Regions from separate parts of the Homo sapiens genome. Here region 2 is linked to region 1. Evidence: promoter capture Hi-C in human tissues and cell types (Jung and others, 2019). All regions are on one chromosome and are shown on one strand. The core of a region is centred on a gene start or on the middle of the fragment in contact, and the rest is flanking DNA. Distances in the headings are between cores, read along the strand shown. Region 1 holds the start of HAS3 (hyaluronan synthase 3). Region 2 overlaps TANGO6 (transport and golgi organization 6 homolog).

Region 1 (4,824 bases), core at 27-2,526:
ACCTCTGTCTCCTGGGTTTAAGCGATTCTTCTGCCTCAACCTTCCCAGTGGCTGGGACTACAGGCACGTGCCACCATGCCTGGCTAATTTTTGTATTTTTTAGTAGAGATAGGGTTTCACCATATTAGCCAGGCTGGTCTCTAACTTCTGACCTCGTGATCCGCCCACCTCGGCCTCCCAGAGTGTTGGGATTACAGGCGTGAGCCTGCACCCGGCCCTGGCTAATTTTTTAATTTTAATTTTTGTAGAGACGGGGGAAGTCTCGCTTTGTTGCCCAGGCTGGTCTTGAACTCCTGGCCTCAAGCGATCCTCCATCTTCAGCCTCCCAAAGTGCTGGGACTACAGGTGTGAGCCACTGTGCCTGGCCAATAATGTAAGATGGGATTGTGTGGAGTAGGTGTGCCTGGGGTCTTTGCTTGCCTGCGGGGACTGAGGTGTGAGGTCTGTGGCCCAGACTGAGCAATGGTGGGCAGGCAAGTCCCTGAGCCCCTAAAACTTGCGAGAGGAGAAGTTTATAGACTGCAGCTCAGGTGCCTATAAATTTGTTGCAGCTTGGGAAGAAGTGATAGAAATTATATCAGGTGTATTTGGAAAACAGGTAAACTCTGTTTTTTGGTTTTTTTTTTTTTTTTTTTTTTTTTTTTTTTTGGAGACGGAGTCTCGCTCTGCTGCCCAAGCTGGAGTGCAGTGGTGCGATTTCAGCTCACTGCAACCTCCACCTGCGGGGTTCAAGCGATTCTCCTGCCTCAGCCTCCCGAGTAGCTGGGATTACGGGCATGGTGCCCGTAACGCCGAAAGTGCTGAGATTACAGGCTTGAGCCACGGCGCCCGGCCACTCATTTTTTAAAAACTAGTTATTAATTATAATTTCTCTTCAAGTTTTCCTGAGATGTAAAAACTCATCGCCTTCAGCTGGTTCTAAACTTCTTGTCTCTGCTAACAACTCTCCCCCCTCCTCGATCTCACCCCACCCCAGTGCACCCCAACTCACTTCATCTCACTTTACTCGAGTCTAGCACTATCTTTTAGGGACCTGAAAACTACTGTCGATAAGGTCAGTTGGGAATTTAGGAGGTCATGGATGTCGGAAATAAAGGTGTGAAAAAGAAGAGGAGGAATTGTTTTGGCTTTAAGACACCGGAACCTCCAAGGTTCCTACAAAACCGTTTGCAGCTTTTGCAAACCGCCTTAAAGTCATCAGCGCCCCACTGCGGAATTCAAAGCTAAGCTGTCACAATTGTTAACACCTTCTTTGACCAGCCTTTTTACATTTGACAATTCTCTTCAGCGCCTCTTTCCTGCCAGCAGGAAGGTTTTGCTGCCTTGGCTTTCGGGAGCCCCCTAGACAGCGAACTGCCCCTTCGCGTGCAGAAGTCGGGGAAGAGTGCTCTCAGCTCGCCTTCCTTGCAGGGTGAGTAGGTTTTGCGGGTTAGAGAGCGGGGCGTGGGGGCGGGGAGGGAGAGTAACAATTTTGGAAGTCCCTGCGTGGTATCTGGAAAGTTAACGACGCTTCAGGTTCTAGGTTGAGCCCAATGACCGTCTTGCCTTGGCAGCTGGTCCCAGGGCGATTGCAGAGCCGCGTGGCCTTCGGCCCCACTCGGGGGACCCAGCTTCGGAGAGGGCGCAGGGGCTGCGAGTCTTGCGAGCCGGAGCCGCGTCCACCCGGGACTAGGCGTCCCCGCCGAGCGCTGGCTTGTGGCGCTCCCTGGGACCGCGCGGGGTCGGGGGTGCGCCCGCGGGGGCCCTCCCACTCTGGTCAACTTTCCCGGCCCCAGGGCCGGGGGAGGCGCCTCTCCTGGCGGGCACGCGCCGGGTACTTAAGGGCGGCTCGGCTGGGCAGGCGGCAGTCGGAGCGCGCGGCGGCGCGGAGCGGAGCGGGAGGAGGGGCATGGAGCCGCCGCGGGCCTGCTGAGCTCCGGAGCGCGGCAGCCGGCGGCACGGTGAGCGCGGGCCGGCCGGCACCCAGGAGGGGAGGGCCGCGCGGGGCTGCGCCGAGGCCGGGGCGCGCCGGGTGGCAGGGGTGCCTCTCGCCGAGCCCCCCGCACCCGGCCAGCTCCCAGCCCTGCGGGCGCCGCGTCCGGCGCGGGGAGGCGGGTTGGGGGCGGCGGCAGCCCCGGGCTTCCCGGCGGCCGTTCCTGCAGCCCCCTCCCCACTGACCCCTCCTCCCTTTCTTCCTGCATCCTCTCCTCTTCCAGCCTCGCCTCCCTCCTCCCCGGCGGCTCCTGTTTTGTGAATGAATTAGGAGGCGGACGCCGGTGCGGGGCTCCAGGCTGGCTGGGGTACCCCTCCCCCGCACCTTCTACGACCTCCCGGGGGTTTGCACCTGTCCGGGCACCAAGGTACCAGGCGCCCACGTTCCTGCGGGTTAGCCGGGCCGCGGCAGCACGTGTCCGGGGGAGTGGGCTCCCCTCCCCTGGCCGGCCTGGAGGGGCCCGGAGGGCGGCCGGGCACAAGAGGAGGAGCCCCGTTGGGCGCACAAGTTTCCATGCCGCTGCGTGTGGCCCTGCCGCGGGGCGCACCTGTCAGCGGGAGAGACGCTGCACACCAGCAGCCCCTCAAAGTTTCGGAGGCTTGATGGAGAAGCGTGCGTCCTTGACTGGGGGTTCTCCTTCCGTAGTCCTGGGAGCCGGACTTGAGAGCGCCCCCAACCTTGTGCCCTTGAAAGCCGAGTGCGCGTTAGTTTGCCTGGGCTGGGCTCCCGTGGATGAGCGAAGGGCATGAGGAGGCGGCGGTCCAGGCTGTAGGATCACCCCACAGCCTCTGCCGGCTTGGGGTGACACAGCCCCCCGCCCCAGGTCTGGGCAGGAGAACCTCGACCACAGCCTGCACCAGCGCCTGATTGCACGTGGGGTATCTGGCTGAGGGACATTTTGGGGGCCTCTATTTGGGGGTGGGGGTAGTAACCTGGGTAATGCCTCTAATTCCTGCGGGGGAGGGGTCCCGCCCAGGGAAGGAGAGGGCCGGCTACACCGGGGATGCGCCTTTGTCTACAGGCACACTTTGCCAAGGTAGCTGGGGTACCAGGAAGAGCAGGGCCTGGTCCGACTGGGATCCCTTGGGTTTTCCGTTCCTTCCCGGTTGGGTCGTGGGAAAGCGGCACGTGGGTGTGGCCGGCGCCGCCTTTGCCAAGAGGCGAGGCTCGAGCGGGGATGAGAAGCGTGGCGAGTGCGTTCGCGGCTGCTTTGACCTGGTGGGCGCCGCCTCCGGCACTGCACCGAGGCGGGGCGCCAGCGCCCAGGTTGCTGGGCTGGCCTTGGCGCCCCCTTCCCCTACCCAGAGCGCAGGCAGGCAGGGGGGTCCCGCCGCGCCCCTTCAGCATGTAAGCTCCGGAGGGGAATGGGGGCGCTCCTAGGCTGCGGATGCAGGCCTGGGGACTCCTGGGCCGCAGGCGCGAGCAGTAGGGTGGCAACAGGGAGGGCTGGGAGTCCTGTGAAGGAAGCACACGGCGGGCTCCCCGGGACGGTGGGGCAGAGCGCCCGGAGGCCGCGCTTCCCGGAGAGGCTAGGCTGCCAGCAGCTCTTTTCGGGCCAACGCTGCTGGAAGGCTGCTAGTGCCGGAGTCTCAGGTCGATTTAGGCAGTGACTGCGTGTTCTTCGTCCCTTCTACGTGAGAGGCGTCCCGACAGGAAAGTGTGTTTGTTTTGGGGGCTCCGTTTCCTGAGACCTAAGAGTTGGAGCAAGCTTGGAAGCGAGGCATCATTGTCTGTAGACCTCAGTGAACATGGGGTTCTCTAGATCAGGCAGGTGGCAGAGAGGAGATAGTGTGGGTCAGAATGGGAAGGCCGGCAGCCATCCTTGCCACCTTTTCTTTCCCCTCCCTCACATCCCCCTCCCCACCTGCTCTGGAGGAAACCACAGTCACCCTCACCACTAGGGTAGCTCTTCGGGGCCGGAAGTGTTTCCATTTTTAGGGAAATGACTTACCTGAGACATGAGGCAGGAATCCATTAGAACTCCCATTGTGCTATGGGGAGACCAAGTCTCAGAGAACTGGGGCAAGGTCAGGCAGCCAGGAGGCAGAAGTGCTGTCTTAAACCCAATTCTCTAGTGCCAAGTCCTGGGCTGTTATAAAATACAGCTGTTTCCAACAGGGGAGATGTTAGGAGCCCTGACTTAGTTGCAAATGGAAACCGGGCATTGTTTCCAGGAGTGGCTGGGCAGGGGGACACGCACAGAGACGCATGCTGCACGGGCACTAGGACCAAGCGGATGGGATGCCCAGGCAGCCACTGTGGAGGCTGCTGCAGTGGTGGCTGCAGTTCCCTGTGCTTTCTTCAGCCCTGGGCTCTAGGAGGCTGTCCACTCCCCAGCTTGCATTTCCTGGTCTGCCTCTCCCCCTGCTTTCCCTTTCTTTCCTGCCTCTCAAGTAAAAGGTGAGAAAGTGGAGGACACAGGGAAAGTTTCTCTAATAACTGTCTTGAGAAAGGGAAGCTGCTGCTTTTTCCCAATGCCCCTTTGTTTGCTGTTTCTTTTGCTCCTGCACTTTCTTCTTGGGTCTTACTGGTGGCTGCACTTTACTGGTGAATATCCCCTCCAGGAGTGGGTGCAGGGTAGGGGGAAGCTCTTAGGCCACTGGCTGCCTCCCTGGCCCTCAGGTGCCCAGAGCTGCCTCAGGCTCACCCCCTTGAAGCTTACCTCTTCAGCGCTTTGGGCCAGGTAGAGCCCAGTTCTGCCACCCACCAGCCAGATGTCACGTGACCCTCTGGGCCTTGGCTTGTCTACCCCAGTGCTACACTAAGGGCTTTGTATGTGTCGCCCATTTAACCCTCAAAGATGCCTTGAGGTTAGTCCTGCAACCCACATTTTACAGATGACGTAAGGGGGC
Region 2 (4,681 bases), core at 1,688-4,187, 37 kb before region 1:
AGCTGCATGGTCACTGACCACTCCAGCCCTTGGGCAGCATGCCTCAGCATAAGCCAGCCAGGGAGCACACACAGTTAGGTGTTGGGAGTTCTGACCGCCTATTTTTTGTTTAGGACTCCTGAGCTATCATCCCTCCCAAGGGTTAACTGCTACCCACCATCTTGGTCTTTGTCCCTAAACAACCTAAACTGTCCATGTCCCTGTAGCATTTTTGGCACTTGACCAGTTAAATATTTCTCCCTTTTTCTCAGGAAAAACCACACATGATACCCGCCTCATCTCCTTTCCACCCCATCTCCAATTTGCACTTTAGATGCTCTCCTCATTTAGTAGCCAGAAAGGGTAAAAGTGCCATTTATCTCTAGGTCTAGCAGAGAAAAATACTCTTAAAATAAAAGGTTTTTGAAAAGCTCAGTAACCTCCAGTTAATAATAATGCCACTGTGAACTTCAGTGTGTTTGAGATTTTCTATCTGTCAGGCATGGGTAGAAATCTCTTAGACATTAGTAATCCTGCCTTTCTTTACTGACCGTCCTGACGCTTTCAGTGAAGTGTCTCAAAAGCCTGGTCTTTCAGGTTTGAATTGGCCCTAATTTCTTTTTCATAGACCCATCAAAGTGAAAGTTTGGGTTTTATCAGGAAAGCATTATTCTTCTTCAGTCCAGAGCTCCTGAATGAGGTCCAGATTGTCTGTGTCCATTCTGCTTCCCCAATTTATTTGTTTCCTGCCCATTATCTTAGAGAGGCCACTCGCCTCAAAGACCTTGGAGTCTGGCCCCTTTCTGCTTCCCCGGCAGAATTCTTCCTGATGCTTTCCATTCTGCAGCATAGCTTGATCAGAGCTTCCAGTGTGCCAGCTACCAACATCATCTGACCTGCGCTGGCCTGATACTGTGTTCAGACTACATTAAATTCATTTCCCCGCATCTACGCCACCTCCCTCTTCCTCTCACTCGCCTTCATTTATTCATCTGCCCAGCCACTCTGCCTTTGGCTTCTCCTCTCTAGTCTTTGTTTTCAGAGCTGTGCCTTTCCCCCTCCTATTCATTCATTCATTCATTTGTTTATTTATTTATTTATTTTGAGATGGCGTCTCGCTCTGTTGCCCAGGTTGGAGTGCAATGGCGTGATCTTGGCTCGCTGCAACCTCTGCCTCCCAGGTTCAAGCAGTTCTCTGGCCTCAGCTTCCCAAGTAGCTGGGATTACAGGCACACACCACAATGCCCGGCTAGTTTTTTTGTATTTTTAGTAGAGACAGGGTTTCACCATGTTGGCCAGGCTGGTCTTGAACTCCTGACCTAAAGTGATCTGCCCACCTTGGCCTCCCAAAGTGCTGGGATTACAGGCATAAGCCACCGCGCCCGGACTTCCCCTCCTATTCTTATTCCTTGGTGGTAAACCCAATTTTCTTAATGTGGTGGTAATAATAACAATACTTTGAATTATTTATCACTTTGCTGATGATAGTGAAATACTCTCACATACATTATCTTTTTTGATCCCCACAATATACTCGTAAGGTAGGTGGTTATATGTGCCTTATGCCTCCCACTCCATGGTAGTGAAAATAATAACCACTTTGAGAGGCTGAGGTGGGGGGATTGCTTGAGGCCAGGAGTTTAAGACAAGCCTCGGCAAAATATCAAGACCCCGTCTCTACAAAAAATTTGTTTTTGTTTTTGAGATAGGGTCTTTCTTGCTTCGTTACCCTGGCTGGAATGCAGTGGTGCAATCACGGCTCAGTATAGCCTCAACCACCCAGGCTCAAGTGATCTTCCCTCCTCAGCTTCCCAAGTAGCTGGGACCACAAATGCGTGACACCATGCCCGACTAATTCTATTATTTCTTGTAGACAAAGGGTCTTGCTGTGTTGCTCAGGCTGGCCTCAAACTCCTGGGCTCAAGCAATCCTCTCACCTTTACCTCCCGAAGTGCCGGGATCATAGGTATGAGCTACTGTGCCTGGCCTACAAAAAAAATTTTTTTTTTATTAGCTGAGGCTGGGCACGGTGGCTCATGCCTGTTATCCCAGCACTTTGGGAGGCCAAGACGGGTGGATCACCTGAGGTCAGGCATTCGAGACCATCCTGGCCAACATGGTGAAACCCCATCTCTACTAAAAATACAAAAAATTAGCCAGGCGTGTTGGCGGGTGCCTGTAATCCCAGCTACTCAGGAGGCTGAGGCAGGAGAATCGCTTGAACCTGGAGACCTGGGAGGTGAAGGTTGCAGTGAGCCAAGATTGCGCCACTGAACTCCAGCCTAGGCAACAAGAGCAAAACTCCATCTCAAAAAAAAAAAAAAAAAAACGCTGGGCGCCGTGGCACACGCCTATAATCCCAGCACTTTGGGAGGCCAAGGCGGGCGGATCATGAGGTCAGGAGTTGGAGACCAGCCTGGGCAACATGGTGAAACCCTGTCTCTACTGGCCGGGCACAGTGGCTCATGCCTCTAATCCCAGCACTTTGGGAGGCCGAGGCGGGCGGATCACTTGAAGTTGGGAGTTCAAGACCAGCCTGACCAACATGGAGAAACCCTGTCTCTACTAAAAATACAAAATTAGCTGGGTGTGGTGGCACATGACTGTAATCCCAGCTACTCGGGAGGCTGAGGCAGGAGAATTGCTTGAACCCAGGAGGCGGAGGTTGTGGTGAGCCAAGATTGCACCACTGCACTCCAGCCTGGACAACAAGAGTGAAACTCTGTCTCAAAAAAAAAAAAAAAAAAAGAAAATAAACCCCATCTCTACTAAAAATACAAAAATTAGCCAGGCATGGTGGCACATGCCTGTAGTCCCAGCTACTCGGGAGGCTGAGGCAGAAGAATTGCTTGAATCTGGGAGGCAGAGGTTGCGGTGAGCCAAGATCACACCACTGCACTCCAGCCTGGGCAACAGAGCAAGACTCTTGTCTTGAAAAAAAAAAAATTACCTGAGCATGGTGATGCACACCTATAGTCCCAACTGCTTGGGAGCCTGAGGCAGGAGGATCACCTGAGCTTCAAGGCTGCATGCAGTGAGCTATGATCGTGCCACTGTACCCCAGCCTGGGTACAGAGAGACTCTGTCTCAATAATAGTAATAGTCATAATAAAAACCGCTTTGAGAGACGGTACAGTATAGTGATTAATAAAGAACACTACTCTGGAGTCAGGCTACCAGGGTTTGAATCCTGGATCTACCCATTACTAGCTGTGTGAACCTGGGCAAATTGGAAATGATAATTGTGTTGTGGGGATTGAGTTAATGTAGACAAAATGCCTGGAATCATACCTGGCATATACCAAGTACTATGTAAGGATTAGCTACCGTTGCCATTCATTCATTCTTCAAAGATTTACTGCATGTTAGGCTCTCTTCCAGGCCTCAGTGATGTAAGAGTTACAGGATGGACATAGTCCTGGCCCTCACAGAGGTCACAGTCTTCACTGACAAACCATCACTTCTTTAGCACCCACCATTTGCAATTCCTTGTGCTTGGATCTTTGTTTTTGTTGTTGTTTTGAGATGGAGTCTCGCTCTTGTCGCCCAGGCTGGAGTGCGGTGACGCCATCTTGGCTCACTGCAACCTCCGCCTCCCAGATTCAAGCAATTCTTCTGCCTCAGCCTCCCGTGTAGCTGGGATTACAGGTGCCCGCCACCACGCCCAGGTAATTTTTTTCCTATTTTTAGTAGAGAAGGGGTTTTGCCATGTTGGCCAGGCTGGTCTCGAACTCCTGACCTCAGGTGATCCACCCGCCTCAGCCTGCCACAGTGCTGGGATTACAGGCATGAGCCACCGTACCCAGCCATGTTTTTGGATCTTTAGATACATTAATTCTTATTGCAACCTTCAGGAGGCAAACTTATTCCCATTTTATAGACGAGATCACTGGGGTTCCTAGAAGTGAAGTAGTTTGTTCAAGATTCCCTAGCTAATAATTGGGAGCTCTAGGGTCCACTTCACTCAGTTTGCCTGCCTCCTGACCATTAGGCTTAATTCTGTGTGTCTGCCTCCCCAACAGGGTGTGAGCTCCTGGGTGTGGGAGCCATTCAGCAGAATACTTAGCCTAGTCTCCTGCACACAATGTGGGAAATTTTGCTGAGTTGTTCTCTACTGACAATTCTTGACTCTCTGCCCCGTAATAGTCTCATCTGTTCCCTCTCACATCTCTTAGCCACAAAATCACATCTTGGGCAAGATGAAGGTGCTTAGAAGTTGGACTGTTGCTTTCTGACAGATTCATACCACACCTAATGCTTATTCCAACATGTTTTTAAACAGAACTAGTCGGATTCTGGAGTCTTCTCTTCTGGACCTCAATCTAGAGAATCTTTTTTTCTGCCAGGACAATCTCCAGCCACCAGCTCCAGTTCACCTCTTTCCCCTGTCTTCACCTGTCTTATTATTTCGGTGTATAACTTGCGTGTTATTCCTCTGTTTTTGTCTTTGTGCCTCTTATTTATTTCTCAACCACAAAGGGAGTCACAATTGGTGGTTGATAGGATTGTGTGGAATGTAGCCTTCTTTCTTTTTGATCTTTGTTTGCTTCATCTCTTGTTTCTATAGAATATTGAATTTCTAAATACAACTGTTACAAGGAAAGGGGTCTCCATTCCAGACCCCAAGAAAGGGATCTTGGATCTCGCGCAAGAAAGAATTCAGGGCGAGTCCACATTGCAAAGTAAAAGCAAGTTTATTAAG

The links. Contacts are between HindIII fragments. The study calls those that stand out against the background at their distance.
Region 2: a fragment that was not itself captured here is called in contact with the fragment with the promoter of HAS3 in region 1 in 1 of the 25 tissues and cell types used here (mesenchymal stem cells).

Annotation. Positions count from the first base shown.
Region 1 is chr16:69,104,377-69,109,200 of GRCh38, forward strand. HAS3 (hyaluronan synthase 3) reads left to right here and starts at 1,277. Exons shown (of 4, transcript NM_001199280.2): 1 at 1,277-1,411. RefSeq lists an enhancer at 942-1,490 and a silencer at 1,624-1,903. The HindIII fragment of the contact is 9,378 bases long and covers 1-4,154 here.
Region 2 is chr16:69,065,230-69,069,910 of GRCh38, forward strand. All of the region lies in intron 17 of TANGO6 (transport and golgi organization 6 homolog), which reads left to right. Among named protein-coding and RNA genes, the nearest start is that of HAS3, 38 kb to the right of the region's middle. The HindIII fragment of the contact is 7,887 bases long and covers 1-4,681 here.